2 separate regions of the Homo sapiens genome follow, and region 1 is linked to region 2. Evidence: promoter capture Hi-C in human tissues and cell types (Jung and others, 2019). All regions are on one chromosome and are shown on one strand. The core of a region is centred on a gene start or on the middle of the fragment in contact, and the rest is flanking DNA. Distances in the headings are between cores, read along the strand shown.

The links. The method cuts DNA at HindIII sites, captures the fragments that hold promoters and counts their contacts. A contact is called where the count stands out against the background at its distance.
Region 1: a contact is called between a fragment that was not itself captured here and the fragment with the promoter of HNF4A in region 2, in 1 of the 25 tissues and cell types used here (aorta).

The regions. Positions count from the first base shown.
Region 1 is chr20:44,626,731-44,630,982 of GRCh38, reverse strand. ADA (adenosine deaminase) reads left to right here. Exons shown (of 12, transcript NM_000022.4): 3 at 1,814-1,936. Among named protein-coding and RNA genes, the nearest start is that of ADA, 23 kb to the left of the region's middle. RefSeq lists enhancers at 242-991, 992-1,742, 1-1,979. The HindIII fragment of the contact is 7,776 bases long and covers 1-4,252 here.
Region 2 is chr20:44,353,357-44,357,013 of GRCh38, reverse strand. HNF4A (hepatocyte nuclear factor 4 alpha) reads right to left here and starts at 1,315. Exons shown (of 10, transcript NM_175914.5): 1 at 1,161-1,315. The coding sequence starts at 1,209. It overlaps R3HDML-AS1 (R3HDML antisense RNA 1), which reads left to right and starts at 1,772. Exons shown (of 4, transcript NR_184036.1): 1 at 1,772-1,995. HNF4A-AS1 (HNF4A antisense RNA 1) reads left to right here. Exons shown (of 3, transcript NR_172878.1): 3 at 1-270. RefSeq lists an enhancer at 3,484-3,657. The HindIII fragment of the contact is 37,265 bases long and covers 1-3,657 here.

The DNA of each region.
Region 1 (4,252 bases), core at 1,713-4,212, 270 kb before region 2:
GGAGTGCAGTGGTGCAATCTTGGCCCGCAGTAGCCTTGACTTCCAGGCTCAGGTGGTCCTCCCACCTTAGCCTCCCAAGTAGCTGGGACTACAGGTGCACGCCACCACGCCTGGTGAATTTTTGTTTTGAAGGGGTTTCACTGTGTTGCCCAGGCTGGTTTCAAACTCCTGGGCTTAAGTGATCCGCCAGCCTTGGCTTCCCAAAGTACTGTGATTACAGGTATGAGCCACTGCACCCGGCCTCCTATTTTTCTGCTTCTGCTTTGTGGATAATTGGATGCTTGGACCTCCTGATTTAATCTTCTAATTTCCTTAACTGTTTACTCCTATTTTTCATCATCTTGTCTTTTTGTTCTACTTTGTGGAGGATTTCTTCACTTTTAGCTTCCAGTTCTTTTCTTACATCGTGACAGTTGCTGCCGCATTCTCTTGTAAATTTCCGAGGGCTCGTTCTTGGGTTCTGAATGTTCCCTCCTTTCAAGGATCTTCTCATCTCTTTGAGGATATTCATGTCTTTTTTGTTTTGGTTCTTAGGTTTTCATCTGTTCTCTGTGCTGTTTCCTCGGAGTGCTTTTGTCTATTCTGTTGTTTTGTCCCTCATGTTAGAAGCATTTCTTTTTTTTTTCTTTTTTTTTTTGTGATACAGAGTCTTGCTCTGTCACCAGGCTGGAGTGCAGTAGCATGATCTCGGCTCACCACAGCCTCTGACTCCCTGGTTCAAGTGATTCTCCTGCCTCAGCCTCCTGAGTAGCTGGGATTACAGGCACACACCACCACACCCAACTAATTTTTGTATTTTTGGTAGAGACGGGGTTTCACCATGTTGGCCAGGATAGTCTCAATCTCCTGACCTCATGATCCTCGCACCTTGGCCTGGGAGGCCAAAGTGCTGGGATTACAGGCGTGAGCCACCATGCCCAGCCTAGAAGCATTTCTTAATGTCTGGTGTTCTCTGGCTGTTGTATCTTAAAAAAAAAAGGGGGGGGAAACTGAGGCTCGAGGTGACCTTGTGAGCTGGAGCAGAGCCGGGATGGGATGAGGAGGCAGGAGCGTGTGCAGAAGAGAGGGAGCCCCCCTGAGCTCGCACCCTGCTTCCCGTGGCTGGGAGGGGAGGCCGAGATGCTTGGGGAGAAATGGAGGCTCCAAGCCAGAGGGGCTGTTTCCAGCACGCTCTTACTGAGCGCTGCTGTAGTCCAGCTTGGTGTGGCGGCTGTGGGCAGGGAGGGGAGAGAGGTCTGAGCTGGCTGGCGGCCCACTGGGCCCCTCCCCTGAGCCTCCACCGGCCCTCTCCCAGTGCGCTGGGCTGGGCAAGCCTCTGATGTGCCAGCCAGATGGAGGGTGAAGTCCTGATGCCTGCCCCTACCCTGGGAATTGTGATGCTGCAGTTACTGCCCCTGATAACCCCTGACTGGGCATAGGACCAGCTGGCTGAGCCAGCTCCTGGGGCTGAGGAGGAAGCCATGAACTTGACCTGGCACTTTCCTTGTCTCCAAGCATCAGTCAACCAAGGATATGGAGGGGGTGTGTGCATGTGTGCACACATACACACACACACACACACACACTTCAACCTGTTTATCCCCCTTGAGATTTGCTGACTTGTGCATTGGGGGTAGAAGGTGCTGGAAAAATTCCGGTCCTGGTTCTCAGTTTCCCCATCTGTCCAGTGGGAGCAGCTGGACTGAGAGACGCCCATGTCTCCTGCTGTGGTCCTGCAAGGAGGCTGGCGCTCCTGAGTCTGCTCCATCCTGGCCTGTCAGGCCTGCCTGGATCCTGCCCCGGGTTGGTCCACCACTCACTGTTTTGTTTCCAGGAGGAGAGGGATCGCCCTCCCAGCTAACACAGCAGAGGGGCTGCTGAACGTCATTGGCATGGACAAGCCGCTCACCCTTCCAGACTTCCTGGCCAAGTTTGACTACTACATGCCTGCTATCGCGTGAGTTGCCCCCAACCCACAGGTCCTAGGGCAGCATTGATCCCTATGACTAGGACCAGGCCTGTCCCTCAGCCTGTGGGGGCCAGAGAAGTTGCTCTGAAACCACAGCTGTCTTTCTCACCATTGTGTACACTTAGTGAGTCTCTCCAGTGCCTTTAGGCCTCAGTTTTCCCTTCTGAGATGTGGGTGTGATGGACTGAAATTGCTTCAAGTTCTACAGAGAAATGGCAGAATATGGGAGCTAAGAACACAGGGTCAGAGGCAGTGCAGGGCTTGAACCCGGGCCATCTATCTCCTAGTTCAGGGCTTCGTGTTGTGAGGGGAGGAGAGGCCTGAATATAGGGTGGGGGCGGGGAGATGTGGGGAAGATTCTCCAAAAGGCTTTTTCTTTTTCTTGTCTTGAGTCGCCAGGGAACAGCACTAGGTACCGAAAAGGCCCAGAAGGGGTATGGGCGAGTACTAGAGAGAAATTTCCATGACTGCTTTATTTATTTATTTATTTATTTATTTATTTATTTATTGAGACAGAGTCTCACTCTGTTGCCCAGGCTGAAGTGCAGTGGTGCGATCTCAGCTCACTGCAACCTCCACCTCCCAGTTTAAGGGATTCTCCTGCTTTAGCCTCCCAAGTAGCTGGGATCACAGGCACCCACCATCACACCCAACTAATGGTTTTGTATTTTTAGTAGAGATGGGGTTTTACTATGTTTGCCAGGCTGGTCTCGAATTCCTGACCTCAGGTGATCTGCCCGCCTCGGCCTCCCAAAATGCTGGGATTACAGGCGTGAGCCACTGCGCCTGGCCTCCATCCTCATCCTGAAGATGCAAGAACTTCTGGTGACCCCTTCTCCTGAGAGTGGCCTGATCTCCCCTGGGCAGGGCACTTTCTTCCCACGCTGGGCTCTCCCAGCACTTGTGTGCCTTCCCTCACACATTCTAGTAACCACTTCATTTTCACTCTTCATGGTGGGAACTTCCAGCTAAGCACAGTCCACCGTTACGTGATCAACACAGTGGCCCTGGCAGGCCAATTTGTGCCTTGCTTCTGGAACAAACATGCAGTAATAACAACGAAAATGTTTTGAGCATTTGTCCGCTCTGCTCCAAGCACTGACCCGGGTGGGGTTTATGAAGTTTGACTCATTTGTCCCCGCAATAACTCCTTGACCTAGGTGTCAGAGGGTGACTAACCAGGGGTCACACAGCAGATAAGTGTGGGCACAAGGATCCAAGTCCATGACTGTATCCCACGTGTCTCCCACATCCAGGCATCCCTCTGGACTTGTCCAGCTGTGTCCTTTTCTCTCATTTCTCTTCCCTGCCAGCCTTAACTCCATCACCAACAAATATTGGGCTACTCTGTCCTAGGCATGGTCCTCAGCTGAGAGGTCGCAGCCATCCCAAGACAGAGGGGTCCTTGCCACATGGAGACTGCATTCTAGTAGGGAATACAGCAAACTGGCTGATAAGCCATATGACACACAATGTTGAGTAGTGATAAGGACCTGGGAGAAAAAGAAAGCCCAGGAGAATGGTGGAGGGGCCGTTTTAAGATAAGGCGGTCTGGGCCAGGTACAGTGGCTCACGCCTGTATCCCCAGCACTTTGGGAGGCTGAGGTGGGCGGATCATGAGGTCAGGAGATCGAGACCATCCTGGCTAACACAGCGAAACGCTGTCTCTACTAAAAATACAAAAAATTAGCCGGGCGTGGTGGCATGCGCCTGTAATCCCAGCTACTTGGGAGGCTGAGGCAGACGAATCACTTGAACCCAGGAGGCAGAGGCTGCAGTGAGCTGAGATGGCGCCACTGCACTCCAGCCTGGGCGACAGAGCAAGATTCTGTCTCAAAAAAAAAAAAAAAAGATAAGGTGGTCAGGGAAGGCCTCTCTGAGGAGGTGAAGCTTCAGCTGGCTCTAAACCAGGGGAGCGGGAGAGACGCAGTGTAGGACAGTATCGGGGAAGAGCAGGCCTGTGTCTTCTCCGGTGGCCTCAGGGAATGAGGGAGAAGGAAGGTGCTGGGGAGGCTGGCAAGGCCTGGAGGATGCAGGCCTTGTGGGCAGGACCTGGGAGTTGCGATGTCACTCTCCGTGGCAGGAAGCTACTGGGGCTTCGAGGGGAGAAGTGATATGCTTTGATTTACCTTCTTAAAAGATTGCCCCAACTGCTGGGTGGAGAACAGGATGACAGGGGCAAGCATGGAGACAGGGAGGCCAGTTAGAGATGGCGTGATTCAGGCCAGGATGGAGGGGTGAGAACTGGTATGCAGTTCCAAAGTAGAGCTGATAGGACTTGCCCAGTGTCTGGGATCTTATCCA
Region 2 (3,657 bases), core at 66-2,565:
GGGCTTTACATCCTTGTTCCCCACGGCATCCACCATGATCTTAAGACACATCCTAGTCCTGTCTCCACTTCAGAAAGAAAGCAAGAGGCACGTGAATGTTGAGCCGTGTGACAGAGTCACAACTAGACCCCGAGGTCTGCTGGATTCCAGAGACCAAGTTCTGTGCGGGTGTGTGATTTGAACAGGTTTATAAAAGGCACCCAACTTTTAAAAAATCCAAAATGTGTCCCCAAAAGATAAAACATTCTCTTGAATTTCCCTCCTCAGAAACAAACCTGTCACCAATTTTATTGTGTCATTCCACGAATTTTCTATGCGTGGAATGTACACGTATACGCGTGTGTACATATATACATCTATATCCGTTTCGCTATCAGCAACTACACAGTTCTTCAGTGTACCGTTTTCACTTAATTTAACTGAGAGGTTCTTCCCTGTCACACACAGATGTGCGTTGTTTCCTTGAACAATGGGATAGCATTCCACTGTAAAGACGTCTCACGCTTTATTTACCCGTCTTCCCTCTGCTGAGGGACATTGGGTTGCTTCCAATGTGGGGGTCACCCTAAGGAGTGAGCCTGAGCCTTTCACTCTCAGTAACACATGCTTTCTAGCCCTGCATCTGAGTTTCACACGTCCGCACAAGATATTCTCATTTTCCAACGCTCCACCCTGCGCGGCGCTTTCTACCTCCTCCCCATTATCCAGAGCCAACGGAGGTGCGGAGCGACCGAGCTGCCCGGTCCCACGCCCAGCTTGATAATGCACCAGCAACGTGACCTAGGCCCAGCAAGCCTCTCCTGGTGGACCTCAATTTGCCCCGCATCGAAACAGGACGGTGCTTCCAAGCCCCACCCTCTGTGGGGTTTTGGAAAGACCCCTGAGATGCATTCCCAGGAAGGCCTCTGGACAGACAAAATGAGCCAAGCCTCTGCCCCAGGGCTTCTCGGCCCCTCCCAGCACTTCTCGCACCAAGCAGGCCATGCCCCGGCTTGAGAGCTTAGGGAAGCGGTCACATTGCCTCCGTGGGGCTTCCTGCCCTTCCAGAGGAGCTCCAGGAGGAGCTTTGGGCCCGTAAGAAACACACGGGGAGGTGTCCCATGGCCTCCCAAAGCTGACCGCAGTCCCGCCCTGTCCAGTCTTCCCCCAGCCCCACTTACCGTAAGAACTCTCCACTGGAGCCCCGAGGGGCGCGTTCACGCTGACCATGGCCAAGCCCACCCAGCCGGAGAGCTGGGGGCATGGAGGAGCAGGGGCCCGCTCACAGCAGCAGCACAGCCACCAGGAGCCCGTCCACCAGGAAGGCGGTGAGTGCGGCCAGCTGCCACCGCCCGGTTATCTTATTGATTCTTCTAATCACCCAAGGTGGGTGGATACGTTAAAGAGTAACCAGTCACTTAGGGAACCCGCGGCTGGGGACTGTTGCTGTCTCCATGGCAATGGCGACCTGGCCAGACCTGAGGTCCACTCGGGTCCTAGTCCTGCACTCTGGGGTTAGGGGAACCCAGAGCCAGGTGTATGGGGACATCAGCCCCCCAATTTGAGGACAGGGCCGGAGCAGAAGGGGCTGGAGAGGTGAGAGTCCAACCTGGGTTGGGTTTTATGGCTCCAAACTATGGGTGTGTCACCATGCAGGAAGTAGTGGGAAAACCGAGGGAGGGGCAGAGGAAAAAAGGAGGGTGGAGAACTGTGTTTAGTGAGTGCCTACTGGATGCTGGGAGTTGCATACAGGCGTTACCATATTTAAATTAAACCTTGAGATGAAGGGACTGAAGGACAGAGAGAAATTGCATGCCTGGAGTCTCACTGCTAGTACATAGAGGTGTTATCTTCCTTTCATCTAACATATTTATTGAGCACCTACTATGTACCAGGCCTTGTGCTAGACTCTGGGGATATGGAAATGAGCAAAGTAGATGTACCCCCGAAACTTGTGGACTAATGGAGGAGACGGACCTTAATCAGATCGTCATTCAAAGATACTATTACAAACTGGTGAGTGATATGAGGGGTGGAGAAACATGGGGCTGCCTCCAGGCCAATGGGACAAAGTCATCCTGTCTGGCGTCTCCTCTGGTCTCCTTCCCCATTCTAAATTCAACCTGCTGCTGAAACTCACACACTCTGTTTTAGCTCCCTGGCATGTTAGACACCTGCCACCTAGCTTTTTTTTTGGAACAGCCCCGTTTCTTTTGTCTCAGTTTTGGATCTCACCACCTGCTTGGGGATTCTGAAATCAAGGTCATTCATCCTGTTAGAGAGAGCTGAAATGAGAACAGTGAAACAAATTCTGGACTCAGAAAAATCAGAAAACTCCAGCTCTATTATTTTCTTGCTGTATGTTTTTTAGTAAATTATTTCATTTCCTTATAGGAATACCTAGCTCATAGTTTGCCCTGCTTCTAAAATAGCTAATTGATAATATTCCTCTTCTCTTCCCATAGTCTCTTTTTTCAGCTTTATCAATCACCTCAGAGGGACCTTCAGCCCCTACAGATGGGCATGGGTTGCATTAAAATGTCCTTTCTTTTCTAAAACAACAGTGATAACAAACGTTAGATTTTGGGGCCGGGTGCAGTGGCTCACGCCTGTAACCCCAGCATTTTGGGAGGCCGAGGCGCACCGATCACGAGGTCAGGAGTTTGAGGCCAGCCTGACCAACATGGTGAAACCCCGTCTCTACCAAAAATAAAAAAATTAGCCGGGCATGGTGGCAAACGGGAGGCTGAGGCAAGAGAATCGTTTGAACCAGGGGGACAGAGGTTGCAGTGAGCCAAGATCGTGCCACTGCACTCCAGCCTGGGCAACAGAGAGAGACTCCATCTCAAAATAAATAAATAAATAAATAAATAAATAAATAAATAAATAACTTCGATATTTTTTAAAAAAAAGTATTAATATTCTTGGTCGGGTGTAGTGGCTCATGCCTGTAATCCCAGCAGTTTGGGAGGCTGAGGCAGGTGGATCACTTGAGGTCAGGAGTTTGAGACCAGGCTGGCCAACACGGTGTAATCCCATCTCTACTAAAAATACAAAAATTAGCTGGGTGTGGCAGCGAGCACCTGTAATCTCAGCTACTCGGGAGGCTGAAGGAGGAGAATCGTTTCAACCTAGGAGGCAAATGTTGCAGTGAGCCAAGATTGCACTACTGCACTGCAGCCTTGGCGACAGAGCCAGACTCCATCTCAGAAAAAAAAAAAGTATTAATATTTTTATATGGGGGTGGGGGAGGTTTGCTAACCCTATGTCAATTTCCCAAAATGTTCTGGAGATTTAAGTGGTACGTAACCCCCTGCATGAAGTGGCGTCATGAGGTCACATAACTACGAAGGAGCCAACACAGAACTGGAATTCAGCATCATCTGACCCCAAAGCCCGTGCTATTTCAACAGGTCTCACATTGCCTTCCTGAGCACCAGGATAATGAGGATGACAACCACTGGCATTTATGAACTCTTTAGTTTGTCAGCATTGTATATTCTTAACGTCATTGAATTGTCACTGTCAATATTCCCATTTTACAGATGTAAAAACTGGGATTCAAGAAGTTTCATTAAATCTGTTCTTTTTTTTTTTTTTTTTTTTCTGAGACAGAGTTTTGCTCTTGTTGTCCAGGCTGGAGTGCAATGGCGCCATCTCGGCTCACTTTAACCTCCG